Regions from separate parts of the Homo sapiens genome. Here regions 1, 3, 4 and 5 are each linked to region 2. Evidence: promoter capture Hi-C in 16 types of primary human blood cells and fetal thymus (Javierre and others, 2016). All regions are on one chromosome and are shown on one strand. The core of a region is centred on a gene start or on the middle of the fragment in contact, and the rest is flanking DNA. Distances in the headings are between cores, read along the strand shown.

Region 1 (2,700 bases), core at 166-2,665, 210 kb after region 2:
AGCCAAATCATTTATCTTCCCAACTCTCTTTATTTTTTAAATTGGCCTAAGTAAAATTGTTTAATTTATTTGCATGGCGATCCCCTCCGTGGATCGTGTTAGGCACTGTGAAGTGTTATATCTGAGCATAAAGAATTCCTTGGAATTTGGCAAGAAATAATATGTATAAGGGTGTACAAAGGTGCTCTTGAAATAATGCTAAGTGAGCAGAATGAGACAAAAACCATGGATAATACATGAGCTTCCTTTTGTTTCTTTGAAACTAAATCTATACAGAAGTTCATTTTTTTCTTCCTCTATTTTACTCATCCCTACTTGCTAATGTACAATCCCACCTCTTGCAAAGTCTTCTTGCATTGTGTTTCTGGAGGCTCCTGAAGGACTTTCACATCTGTTAAGGAGCAAGTCCCTGAAGATGCAATGTGGTCCCTGATGCTGGTTTCCTCTTCTCCAGCTCTGGCCTCCTCACCCTGAGAGGCATTGCACACAGGTGCACCATCTACTATGCACCCCCATGATGATACAATGGAGCTACCAAGGTGCCAAATCCAGGCCTCTTTCCATGCGTAAGTGGAGAGGCAGTCAGTCCTGCCTTTCTCCTGTTTATAAAACCTTCAATGGCTTCCTAAGACCCATGCTTTAACAACAAACCCCTCATCCGTCCTCTAGGCGGCCTCACCTCAGTGGCTGGCAGCTACTACTTCCTAGAACTCACCTCTCCTGGAACACCCCAGGGTGCCCCACACCTAACGGCATCACTTTTGACAGCCAGTCCCCTCCCACTGTGGGTGCTGGCCATCTGCCGAGCATAGTGGGCTCAGGGATGAGCAATGATGCCTGTTCCCAGCAGGCTTCTGCTGGTCCTTCTGCCCCAAGCACCACGCCACCCCACTCCAAATCAATTTGTTTGAAAAACATCCACTTTTTCTTCAAAACTTGGCTCTAAGATTTGTTTCTCCGTGAAGCTTTCTACCTGCTCCCCAGCCCCACAGTGTGTGCACCCCACACTCAGCGTTCCCATAGCACTTTGTTCCTTTTTCCTCTTCCTCTCCGTGGTATTTAGCCTACCTTCTACTAGCACCTACTTATGTTTGCCTGGCTCCCACCTTCACTAATTCGTGAGCTTTTCCTGGGGAGAGATCTTTTCACCATGGGTAGGGACCTGTCTCCCATCACTTTGGAGTTCCCAACACCCAGCACGGTGCCTGGCCCAGTCTGCGTGTCCAGTGAAATAACAAAAATGTAACTAAGAACCAGGAAACTCCACATGGAATCACTGGCATTTCCAAGACCCCCTGGCATCTTCAAAAGTCTGGGTTTCTTTTCTCTTGCTCTAGAGGGCATCTGGCTCCTCTTCTTCTCTACCTTTCTGTACCCCTTTTCTCCCTTTTCTTTACCTGGGAGAGGAGACACAGGGTGGGCTTGCTTCCTGGCTTGAGCTTCTCTGGGGTTCCAAATCGGGGTACATCTCCACAAGGCACAGCAAACCTACTATATTCAAACTTCCTGCAATTAAGACTCACCCTACATGTTCTGGCCCAGTGGCTCAGTGCTGAACAAGGACATTGGCCAGACAAACACCCATTGCCCTGGGCCCTGGCCTCCCAGAATGGCACAAGATCATGGCTCCCCGGCTCCTCCAAGGATGACCATGTCCACCACGATACTTAACAGTTGCCACACCAACCATGTCTGATCAAAGTGATTCTCACTGTGAATCACTGTGAGACCTGAAGAGCAAAGCCTGCACATCCCGGAAGCTGTCTGAGGCTGCTCGGGGCATATTCTCTTTCTCTTTTAAAACACAGACTTGCCTTTGCTACCTTCTGTAGGCTATGTGAGCACAGCCGGATGTCCCATTCAAAGGAAGCTTCTTGACTTACTCATGGAGACTGTCACATCTTAGACGACAGAGCCTTCGCCAATGTTCATGTTCAAAACCATCCCACTTGACAGATCTAGGGCTGAGGGAATGTCTAATCTTAGCAGTAAAACTCACATTTATCATATTCTGATGACCAGTTTAGAAGAGAAGACAGCGGCAGTGGAAATATCTCTGGGACCTCTACAAGGGATTAACTCAACTGACTGTGGAATGCCAGTGCCTCACCAACTGATATCCAGCTATGAATGTATTCTCCATCTAAAACTCAAGTGACTCTTAGAAAGGGATCACTGCAGATACCACACAGGCAGAGCATTTGTGCTTCCAATGAGGCTGGCATGTCTGGCTGTTATCAACACAATTGTCATATGATCGCTTGATAGACAAGCCCAAGCTAACACTGGGCCTAGCCTCTTGGTCACCGTGACTTTAAACCTGGCCTGGAGTTGCCATGACCAGAGCTTACTGAGATTATGTGGTGAGGTCACCTGAGTCAGGAACAGAGCCAGGAAGCAGAGGCTAAGCCATTTGATGGGCAGACCTCTACTCCAGCCACAACATCACTGTCAAAACGAGGTCATGGACAAGTCTAGAATTCACGGTGATCAAAGGTGCTCTAAGCACTGTGGCTGAGGCTTTGCCATAATCCCAGGCTTTCCACAAGAAAAGCATATGTAAATGTTTTGACATGGTGTTGGGATATTTCACTTCAGTTTAGTGAGCTTAGGTACTGGCAAGAAAAACCCAACTGTATTTTATTCGAGCTGCTTCTACACACTTTATTTTGTTCTCTTGTTATTTTTCAATAGTGTTAA
Region 2 (2,700 bases), core at 21-2,520:
GTTTACAGAAACATCACCAATTCACAAGAATTCAGCCTCTAGGCTTGTTTAATTTACTTTATGAAAGCTTAAATTGCAGCATAATATATGTGCGTTTGGCCTATTTCAACTATTACTCTTTGTTTTATTGGAAAACATGTTTTACTCTTGCTTACTGATTTGTTCTTGCGTTGGGATCATCTCTCCTCCAGGAGAAAGCATTTCCAATTTTATTATGAAAGATTAACAGGAAAATAGAACTTCCTTCACAGACATTGATGTTCTAGGAATAACTTTACAAAAATATTTCTCTTCTCTGAAAACTAATATTTAAATAGGTGTAATCTGAAACTACCAGAAAAATTCAACAAACACCTCCAGCAAATAAATAGCTGAGTGTCTGTGATGTCCCTTTCCTGGGGAAGGGCAGTATAAAGATGAAAATCTTGTCTAGCTGGAAGGCCGTCACTAACAGGGCTGGGGCGCATAACCCTGTGGAGACATTTGTGCCCGGCCTTAAAGGGTGCGTAGGAGTTTGCCAAGTGGACGTGGAAGGAGGCATTTTAATAAGAGGAAAATAACATGATTGGAAGCGTGGAGGTGAGAAAGCATAGAAGCACTCAGAGTGAGGAGAGCTGGGGCTTGGGCCAGCCCACGTCAGCCCCTGCCTGCGGACCCAGCCTCTTGGAGCCAGGCTCACTCACCCTGCCTTTAAGACGGCCCTACCAGAGGCAGGAGAAGGATCCGCAGCCTCAGCTTTCTGTGGCGCAACCTGGCACTGAGTCACTCATACCAATCTCAGCGCCAGTGGCCAAGCCGCTGCTGCCGGAGGGCCTGTGTCACCCTCCCCCCGTTTCCCTGCCCTCTTCCCATCCTACCACCACCCAAGCTCCCTGGCTTCCTAACAGTGTGGCAGGGATCCTCCCAGGCCCCCATCCTCCTCCAGCCTGAGTTCTTCCTCCCTGCTGTCTTCCCAGTCTTCCCCACTAAGATCCCACCACCCTTCAGACCCGGGCTCACACCAGCTCCTGCTGGCCCCATGTGCCTCGCACCGAATACAGGAGGTCGCACACTGCATCCCCAGACACCAAGTACTGCCCTGCTTGACCACCTATGTTCCCCTGGGCCCACCAGCATGGACTCTCCTTCTGTTACCAGTCACTGCCTGATCCAGGCATGAGCTGCCTGTGTCCCCCGACATCATCCTCCTGGCACCATCCTCTGCTCTTCCTGGCCTTCTTCACTGGGAGCCTTCGGGATCATCCCTCCAGATCAAGTTCTTCCAGCCCCACCTCCCTCCCACCCTGTGCACCCAGGGAAATTCATCTCTTCTGGGTCCCAACCTTGGCCTCGGGAGAGCCCCAGATGCCCCCCTCTGTGTCTACCCCAGTTACTCAGTGTGGTCAGACTTGGGGGTTGTACAGTTTTCTGTCTCATGATTCATTTCCCCAGGCAAAAAGCTGGCTAATAATATCTGGGTGTGCGGGGGAGGTACCAGTGTGTTTCTGTGTTTGGAGGTGAATTTTTTTCTACTTTAGAATTTAATCACTTCTACTTTGAGCAGTTTTTAGCTGAGCTGACAGTAATATGCTCTGCATTGAGTATTTGTAGGGGGTGGAATTAGTCACCACAAATTTCAATTTTTGGACTTTCCTGATAACGCCACAAAGCTGAAAGGCTTCTAAAGCTTGAGCAAAGATTGGAAACTTGACCCCAGGGGTTGATGGTTGATCTTTATAAAAACGACCTTGTGGTCAGTTTGTTCTTTTATGCTTAAATTGTCAAGGTCCCTGTCCACCCCAGGAATTAATGTGGTGATGTGGAAAGAGCACTAGACAAAGGATTTCAAAACTGTCTTTGGGCCCTTGGCTCGTGGCCTTAGCTCTCTGACATTCTTTGCTTATAAAATGTACCCCCTGCCGGGGCGAAGTACAATCCTTACCCATTTTGCATGACTCAACATTTTATAATGGAAGCTTCTATTTTTGTCTGGCTAAATCTTTTTCAAATAAAAATATTTCTTGGTCTGTATATTTTTCATGTCTCAGACATTTTTATCAATACATAATGTCCTAGCTTTTCACATCTTGCAAATGGCACAGAATTGTGAAAGAATACAGCAAAAAGCTAGAAATATACCTGTGTATATAACATTGCTGGGGATTTTTATGTGTGGTTTCTTGTGGGTTCTAGTAAGCACGTTCATTTCATTACCTACAAACGCATAGAAAAATCCAACATAATCCCACACTGATGAGAAGAAGAGAGGGTTGTTTGTCAGGTGGGGTAGTTTCACTTGACTTGAAGGTCTCACCCCGCCCCTCGTCTTTACCATAGCATACGCTTCTAGATGCTTCTGCTGCATTGTCAACCAGACTCTACCAGAACTGTTTTTCAAAACATGTGTTCCTAGGATTTTACCTCCCTGCATTTTTTGCTATATCTATTAAGTAATGCATGTATATAATTAAAAATCAAATAGTCCTATAAGATGTATAATGAAAACCAGCAGTTTCCTATTCCAACCCTCCCAAAGATGAAGTCTGATGTTGCAGAGCCAATCACTTTCAGCGCAGCTAGATGTTTCTTCGGATAATCACCGCGCTATCTGTAACTAGTATGCACAGGCTGCTGTTTCTTGATTTACTGGGGTCATGATCTCATTCTCTTATTCCATTACCTTTACTTCTACTTCCTTGCTCCTCTCCATCTTCCTAAGAT
Region 3 (2,700 bases), core at 106-2,605, 180 kb after region 2:
GCTGCCTTAACCTGAAGAACACTTGTAAATCCCTGTCTCATTTGACCTTCCCTTGGCATTCAGTACGGCTGTTGACCATTTCTTCACTTTCCATTCTGCTGGTTCCTGGTTCTCCAGGTTTCTGGTTCCCCTAACACCTACCAAGTCTCTTTAATGCCTTCTTAAATGTTGCTGTTGCCCCAGGTATCCCATTTAGCTCTCGGCTAATTCATTGAACAAGGCTTTCTTGAATGAGGAAGAACTTAGTGGAAAGGCTAAAGCCAATCAGCTCCTCAGAGTGAAAACGGGCACAAGGGTTGGCACCAGAAAAACAGAATAGAATAAGATCCACCCCTGTCCTCATGGACCTATGCTCTGGATCTCATTTGATTGCCCCAGCATCTACCCAGGCGCCCACGCTGAAAACTGTCACACTCACAGCCAAAAGATCCCCGAATACAGTCACATCTGTCTTTTGAAAATCTTTTGCATCTGCTCACTCTGCTTCCTCTGTGTGGTCATCAGCTGAGTTCCAGCTTTTGTCATCCATCACCTGGACCAATGGCAATAAATCTTCCTTGTTCACTCTGACTCCAGCCTCACGTCCCTCCAATCTTTCCTGCATATTGCATTCACAATGATTTTTAAAACACTCAATGTGGTCACATCATTCTTCATTCAAATCTTTTCAGTAGTTCCCCCATCATCTCCTTACGAGGCTTCTCATGAGCTGGCTCTCACCAGCTTCTCCTGTATCTCTTCTACTACTCTCCTGCGCACATCATAGCCTCCAAAATTAATAACCACCTTAGAGTTTCCCTGAGTGTTGACATGTTATCACACTTACACAGCAATAGCCTTAAGAAATCCTTTACAATCATGTGACTGAGATTCTTCATGTTATCTATGTAGTTTACTTTTTATACCACAAGTCTTGCACATAAAAGCACATTGACTTACTCATCTAACAGGCATCTCAAACTTAACTTATCTGACACAGAAAAACCTGCTCTTTCCTGCTCTTCTCCATCTTCACTGCTCAGGCCCGAAAACTCGGAGGCAAACACAATTCCTCTCCCTTTCCAATATGTCCAAATCAGCTGTCAACTCCATACCCAATATATAGCCCAAAGCAATCCACTTCACTCCATCACCATGGCTGTCTCCACAGTCCATGTCACAGTCTCCAGATGACTATAAAACTTCCCAGCAAGTCTCCCTGCATCCAGTCTTGCCCCCTTAGAATCCATTCTCCACACTGCAACCCACGTGATCATCTAGGAACATAAATCCTATCATGTCACTCCTTGTTTAAGACCCTCCGATGGTTTCCTTGAAACTTAGAGGAAATTTCAAACACTTTCAGAGCCCTGTGTGAATCAGCCACACCCTCCCCACTCCTCCTGTGTACCCCTGTCTTTCCCGCACCCTCTGTGCTCCAGTCACACTGAACTTCCTTCTGTCTCAAACACACCAGCCTTATTCCCACCTCAGACCCTCGCAGTGGCTGTTCCCTCTCCATGAGATGCCCTTCTTGCAGAGGCCGGCTCCCTCCTGATGTTAGATGCCAGCTTAAATATCACCTCTTCAGAAAAGCCTTTCAGGATTACCATGCCTAATGCACCTTCATCACATCACCCTGTCCTATTGGTATTATGGCTCTTACCACTGCCTGACTTTAAATCAGCTCTCTCCCCTCATGAAAGTATAAGGCCCCAAGGGCAGGAACTTGTTTATTACTATATCTAGTGGTGGTATCCAAATTATTTAACAACAGGTCTGGCATAGACTCCAACCCATCAGAAGGGATGCCCATCTGTAAACCCTCAGCTGGCCTGACTGCAAAGTAGTCACTGGACATCAGCCTTCTTGTGTCCTGCATCTGAACAGTGTGACTCTCAATACATGTCAGTTGAATGGGTGAATGAATAAATTAACAACTGTTTCTTGGTTAGGTTCACTGTTCCATCAGGAACACAGGCCTTCACTGTTTTTCTTAAAAAATATATTTATTTATATATTTATTTTTGAGACTGGGTCTGGCTCTGTCACCCAGGTGGAGTGCAGTTACATGATCACAGCTCACTGCAGCCTCAACTTCCCAGGCTCCAGCGTTCCTTCCTCATTAGCCTCACAGGTAGCTGGGACCACAGGCACATGCCACCACATCTGGCTAATTTTTGTATTTTTGGCCGAGATGGGGTTTCACCATGTTGCCCAGGCTGGTCTCGAACTCCTGAGCTCAAGCAATCCACCCGCCTTAGCCTCCCAAAGTGCTGGGATTACAGGTGTGAGCCACCGTCCCCAGCCACAGGTCTCCATTACTAAAGAAGGGTGTACTGAGCCCCTACATGTCCAGGCCTGATCTGCACCCACTGAGAGGCCCCTCGGTTTTCCTGCACAGGTTACTTCTCTTCAGGGACTGTTGTTGTTTTTAAATTTTATTTGAACCAGTAGCTCTGGAATTTGGGTAGGATGATTTCCGCCCAAGTCCTTGACATCCACCAGTGTTTACTTCCTTTTTGTGCATTCTGTGGGCACCCACGGCTGAACAATAGTGAGAGGGGCTCTGAAACTGATTTCAGAAGATGGGGTTCAAGGTCAAGCAATATCACATGCCAGCTGTGAGTCGTCAGGTCTTGGACAGATTATTTAAGTTCTCTGAGTCTACTTTTCCATCTTTAAAATAGGCACATAATAATGGCCTACCTCCCGGGATGG
Region 4 (2,703 bases), core at 7-2,506, 160 kb after region 2:
TATTGAGATGTGAGGTACTATTCTATTCATCATGCTAATTGTTGCCTGAATACCCTGTGGGTTTTTTTTCTTCATTGTTATTGTTTTATAGGTCCTGTGAGATTTATGCTCTAAGAAGGTTCTATTTTGGTGTATTTTGAGGTTTTGTTTCAAGATTTAGAGCTCCTTTCATCAGTTCTTATAGTGTTGGCTTGGTAGTGGCAAATTCTCTCAGCATTTGTTTGTCTGAAATAGACTATATCTTTCCTTTGTTTGTGAAGCTTAGTTTCGCTGGATACAAAATTCTGGGCTGATAATTGTTTCGTTTAAGGAGGCTAAAGATAAGACCCCAATCCCATCTAGCTTATAGGGTCTCTGCTGAGAAACCTGTTGTTAATCTGATACATTTTCCTTTATAGGTTACCTGATGCTTTTGCCTCACAACTCTTAAGATTCTTTCCTTCTTGACTTTAGGTAACTTGATGACTATGTGCCTAGGCAAAGAGCTTTTTGTGATGAATATCTTGGGTGTTCTTTGAGCTTCTTATATTTGGATGTCTAAATCTCTAGCAAGGCCAGGGAAGTTTTCCTCGATTATTCCCTCAAATATGTTTTCCAGACTTTTGCGTTTATCTTCTTCCTTGGGAACATCAATTATTCTTAGGTTTGGTTGTTTAACAGAATCCCAAACTTCTTGGAGGCTTTGTTCATTATTTTGATTCTGTTTTATTTGTCTTTGTCAGATTGGGTTAATTTGAAAGCCTTGTCTTTGAGCTCTGAAGTTCTTTCTTCTATTTGTTCAATTCTATTGTTGAGGTTTTTCCACGTATTTTGCATTTCTCTAAGAGTGTCCTTCATTTCCAGAAGTTGTGACTACTTTTTATTTATGCTATGTACTTCTCTGGAGATTTTTCCATCCATATCCTGTAACATTTTTTAAATTTCTTTAAGTTGGTATTCACCTTTCTCTGGTGCCTCCTTGAGTAACTTAATAATTGACCTTCTGAATTCTTTTGCTGGCAATTCAGATATTTCTTCTTGGTTTGGATTCGTTGCTGGTGAGCTAGTGTGATCTTTTGGGGGCATAATAGAACTTTGTTTTGTCATATTACCAAAATTGTTCTTCTGGTTCCTTCTCATATGGGTACACTGTGTCAGAGAAAAGATCTGGGGCTCAAGGGCTGCTGTTCATTTTCTTTTGCCCCACAGGTATTCCCTTGATGTGGCACACTCCCCTTCCTCTAGGGATGGGGCTTCCTAAGAGCCAGAGTGCAGTGATTGTTATTTCTCTTCTGATTCTAGCCACCCCGTGGAGCTACCAGGCTCTGGGCTGGTACTGGGGAGTGTCTGCAAAGAGTCCTGTGATGTGATCCATCTTCAGGTGGATACCAGCACCTGCTCCAGTGGAGGTAGCAGAGGAGTGAGGTGGACTTTTTGTGGGAACTTTGTTGTAGTTTTGTTTAGTGTGCTGGTTTTCTCTAATGCTGGTTGTCCTGGCAGTAAAGTTGTCATGTAGACAGACTCAGGACCTCTGGTTATCCAGGATGTTACAGGCAGTAGAGTTAGCTGTTTTCTCCTTTCTTGGGACAAGGCTGTTCTTTTATGAGTTGCTGTAATGGTTTGTGTTGATTGGCCTCCAGCCAGGAGGTGGCGCTTTCAAGACAGCATCAGCTGTGGTAGTACAGGGAGGATACAAGCCTGCCCTAGGTTGGCCAGGTGATGGGTGAAGCCACAGAGCTTCAAAGAGATAATGTCTTTTGTCTTTGGCTACCAGGGCAGGTAGAGAAAGACCATCAGGTGGGGGCAGTGTTAGGCATGTCTGAGCTCAGACTCTCCTTGGGCAAGGCTTGCTGTGGCTGCTATAGGGGATGAGGGTGTTTTTCTCCAGCTGACAGAGTTATGTTTCCTGGGGGATTATGGCTGCCTCTGCTGCATCATACAGGTTGCCAGGGAAGTGGTGGAAAGTTGGCAGTGACAGGCCTCACCCAGCCCCTATGCAGCCAAAAAGGCCAGTCTCAATCCCCCTGTGCTCCCCCAACAGCACCAACTTTATATCCAGGCAGCCGGTGAGAAAACTTTTTTTTAAAAGATCATTTTTCCTCAATTTTAATATTTAAGAAAATATATTTATTTATAAAAAATATTTTTTAAAGAATAAAACATTTTTAAAGTCTTCAAGGCAAAACCAATAACAATGTATTGGCAAAAATCATGATGCCAGAGTAGAGGGGCTAAATTAGCCCTAACTAAAGGATGTGGTGGGCCCACCATAACAAGCTTAAAAGAAAGTCTTAAAAAGATAAAACTGATCCCAAGTAACTTAACTGCTAAAAAGGAAAAAAGTCGGTATTCATTAAAGAAATACAGTAAAATGAGCACTCAACAACGTAAAATTGACAATGGCTAAGATTCAATCAAAAATCACAAAGCATGTAAAGAAACGAGAAGAGATTACCTATAACCAGGAGAAGAATCAATTACAGACTCAGAAATGCCAGAGATAATAGAATGGGTAGAAGGACCTTAAAAGATTTAATATTGAAAGATTAAGATTTTAAAATCTTATTAACATGTTCAAAGATATAAAATAAAACATAAAGATAATGATAAAAGAAATAGCAGATATGAAAAAGATCCAAATAGAACTTGTAGAGGTTAAAAAAAATCTGATATGAGAAATCCACATGGAACTTGTAGAGGTTAAAAAAAAATATGATAGGAGAA
Region 5 (2,700 bases), core at 72-2,571, 240 kb after region 2:
CCCTGAGCATAGGGCTCCAAGTATGTTAGAAACAGAATGTCTGGCTTCTCTCTCCACCCCACTGCAGGACAAGGGCTTAGAGTTAGATGAAGAAAACAAAGAACTGGAGGTGTGGACTGATATTGTAACAATATCCCATTCATTTCCCTAATTTTTTTTCTCTTCTTCTGTTTTTTTTTTTTTTTTTTGAGTTGGAGTCTTGCTCTATTGCCCAGACTAGAGTGCAGTGGTGCTCACTGAGCCTTGAACTCCCTTGGGCGGGGGAGGGGGGAGAGAGAGAGAAAGAAAGAAAGAAAGAAAGAAAGAAAGAAAGAAAGAAAGAAAGAAAGAAAGAAAGAAAGAAAGAGAAAAAAGAAAAGAGCACAATTATGAGGGATGGGGTATTTCAAAGGGACACAGGCACTCGCCAACGAAAGAAGCTCCAATGGTCAAGGCAGGAACAACTTGAGCAACAAAATAAATAAAGTAGTTGAATGATAACTCAATATCCTTGAGACCATACTGATGTATATACCTTATTGAATAAATAAATTTATGGAGAAGAAGAGACAAATTTATCATGCAGAATAATTCCAAATAATTTATGTAGATTCTTCCCCAAGAAGGTAGAGCATAACTTCTCACTCACTAACTGTGAGCTGTGCAGAGGGAGTTTTTTCAACACTATACTACAGAAGGGAGGAGAAAAAGTAACTTTTCAGTAGAGAAACCTGCAAACACTACCTCATCTGGGTGTTCAAACTCAGCATCAACAGTGATAAGTCATGTTGATGGTATGTGCTCTTGATGTGATGTGATGAGACTCTCACGTTGACTATGTGGTCTTTTTCCCAAAACCCATAACTCCAGCCTAATCAGGAGAAAAGCATCAAACAAATTCCAACAGTGGGACGTTTCCAAAATAACCTGATCGGTACTCCTCAAAACTGTCAAGGTTATCTGAGAAACTGCTAGCCTAGAGGAGATTATGAAGATATGATGACTAAATGTAATGTGGTATCCTGGGTAGGATCCTGAAACAGAAAGAGGACATTAGGCATAACTGAAGAAATGAATAAAGTATGGACTTTAGTTAATAATAATGTATTAATATTTGTTCATATAGTAACAAATACGCCACACCAGCGTAAGAGGTTAATAATAGGGAAAACTGGGTGTGGGTATATGAGAACTCTACTATCTTCACAACTTTTCTGTAAATTTGAAACTATTCAAAAAATAAACTTTATTTAAAATATAGAAGGCTCTTGGGTTTATTTTAAGCCTCAAAGAAATGAATATAATGGACTAAAAATTGGACAATTTATCACAAAGGCAGATATAGCTTAGTGGTAATAATGTCTGGAAAGAGTATTAATATGTTAATTGGTTTATACCTCTATATATTGGTTTGTATTCTATTGGAAGCCCAAAATGTTATCCAGGAGATATTAATGTGCTAGCGATGAGACATTGTACTCAGTGATTCTAAGAAACATCTATTTACTTTAACAAGAATTTGATGGCTAAAAATGTTTAAATGATTTGAAAATTTCCTTCTGTAACTTCCCTATAAACTCCAAATTTCTTAGGGGTCAATAAATCAATTATATATTTTTAAAAATCCTACCTTCAGCTTTTAAACACTTGAAAAGCTGTCCAACCTCACTCATAAGAGGAATTATATAAAGTGGAATAGTATTTTTATCACATTCATAAAAACCCAAAAGTGATATTGGCATAGCTGTGGAAAAATAGGCACCTTCATACATTGTTGTGAGAACATAAATTGGTAAAACCCCAATGGAGGCGATCTGGCAAAATCAAAATTATAAATGATTATATCTTTTATTCAACAATTCCATTTCTAGGAATTTATCCTACAGAGATACTCACATATATGCTGATATGGTTTGGCTGTGTCCCCACCCAAATATCATCTTGATTTGTAGCTCCCATAATTCCCACGTGTTGTGGGAGGGACCCAGTTGGAGATAATTGAATCATGGGGGTGGTTTCCCCCATACTGTTCTCTTCATAGTGAATATGTCTCACAAGATCTGATTATTTTATAAAGGGTTGCCCCTTTCACTTGGCTCTCATTCTCTCTTGATTGTCACCATCCATGTAAGATGTGACTTTGATCCTCCTTGCCTTCTACCGTGATTGTCAGGCCTCCCCAGCCATGTGGGACTGTGAGTAAATTAAACCTCTTTACTTTATAAATTACCCAATCTTGGGTATGTCTTTATCAGCAGCATGAAAACAGACTAATACACATGCAAATAACATTAGTATAAGTTTATTCATTGCAGTTTTGTGTGTAATAGCAAAAGATTGAAAATGTCTATAAATGAAAAGTCTGATTAAATAAAATAAGATGCATTCCTACAATGAAATACCATGTGGCTATTTTTTTTAAAAAAAGAACAAATAAGCTCTTTATAGATTGATACAGAAAATCTTTAAAATATACTGTTAAGATAAAAAGCAAGATGCAGAGTAGTAGACATATCATTAATATAAAAGGGAGATAGAAATTGGTTCATAAATATATGTTAAAGTGCTTGGAAAGACAAACCAAATATTAACACCAGTGATTACCAATTGGGGATGAGAGATGGGGTGAGGGGTAGGAACTGGGCAAATGAAAGACAAGAGTCTACTTTCACTGAATACTTTTTTATACCTTTTGATATTAGAACTACATAAATAGGTACT

The links. The method cuts DNA at HindIII sites, captures the fragments that hold promoters and counts their contacts. A CHiCAGO score of 5 or more calls a contact.
Region 1: a fragment that was not itself captured here is called in contact with the fragment with the promoter of UST-AS2 in region 2 in 6 of 17 cell types (non-activated CD4 T cells, M1 macrophages, activated CD4 T cells and 3 more); the score reaches 7.3 in non-activated CD4 T cells.
Region 3: a fragment that was not itself captured here is called in contact with the fragment with the promoter of UST-AS2 in region 2 in 2 of 17 cell types (megakaryocytes and M1 macrophages); the score reaches 5.4 in megakaryocytes.
Region 4: a fragment that was not itself captured here is called in contact with the fragment with the promoter of UST-AS2 in region 2 in 3 of 17 cell types (naive B cells, M2 macrophages and total B cells); the score reaches 6.2 in naive B cells.
Region 5: a contact is called between a fragment that was not itself captured here and the fragment with the promoter of UST-AS2 in region 2, in 7 of 17 cell types (M1 macrophages, M2 macrophages, non-activated CD4 T cells and 4 more). The highest score is 7.5, in M1 macrophages.

Annotation. Positions count from the first base shown.
Region 1 is chr6:149,236,970-149,239,669 of GRCh38, forward strand. It overlaps a transcript of TAB2 not described here. Among named protein-coding and RNA genes, the nearest start is that of TAB2-AS1, 19 kb to the right of the region's middle. The HindIII fragment of the contact is 905 bases long and covers 964-1,868 here.
Region 2 is chr6:149,031,391-149,034,090 of GRCh38, forward strand. It overlaps UST-AS2 (UST antisense RNA 2), which reads right to left and starts at 1,271. Exons shown (of 2, transcript NR_134599.1): 1 at 1,135-1,271. All of the region lies in intron 7 of UST (uronyl 2-sulfotransferase), which reads left to right. RefSeq lists an enhancer at 1,675-1,864. The HindIII fragment of the contact is 1,599 bases long and covers 66-1,664 here.
Region 3 is chr6:149,213,164-149,215,863 of GRCh38, forward strand. No RefSeq gene overlaps it. Among named protein-coding and RNA genes, the nearest start is that of TAB2-AS1, 43 kb to the right of the region's middle. RefSeq lists an enhancer at 1-48. The HindIII fragment of the contact is 7,328 bases long and covers 1-2,700 here.
Region 4 is chr6:149,188,790-149,191,492 of GRCh38, forward strand. No RefSeq gene overlaps it. Among named protein-coding and RNA genes, the nearest start is that of TAB2-AS1, 67 kb to the right of the region's middle. The HindIII fragment of the contact is 1,996 bases long and covers 259-2,254 here.
Region 5 is chr6:149,274,956-149,277,655 of GRCh38, forward strand. It overlaps a transcript of TAB2 not described here. Among named protein-coding and RNA genes, the nearest start is that of TAB2-AS1, 19 kb to the left of the region's middle. The HindIII fragment of the contact is 3,443 bases long and covers 1-2,700 here.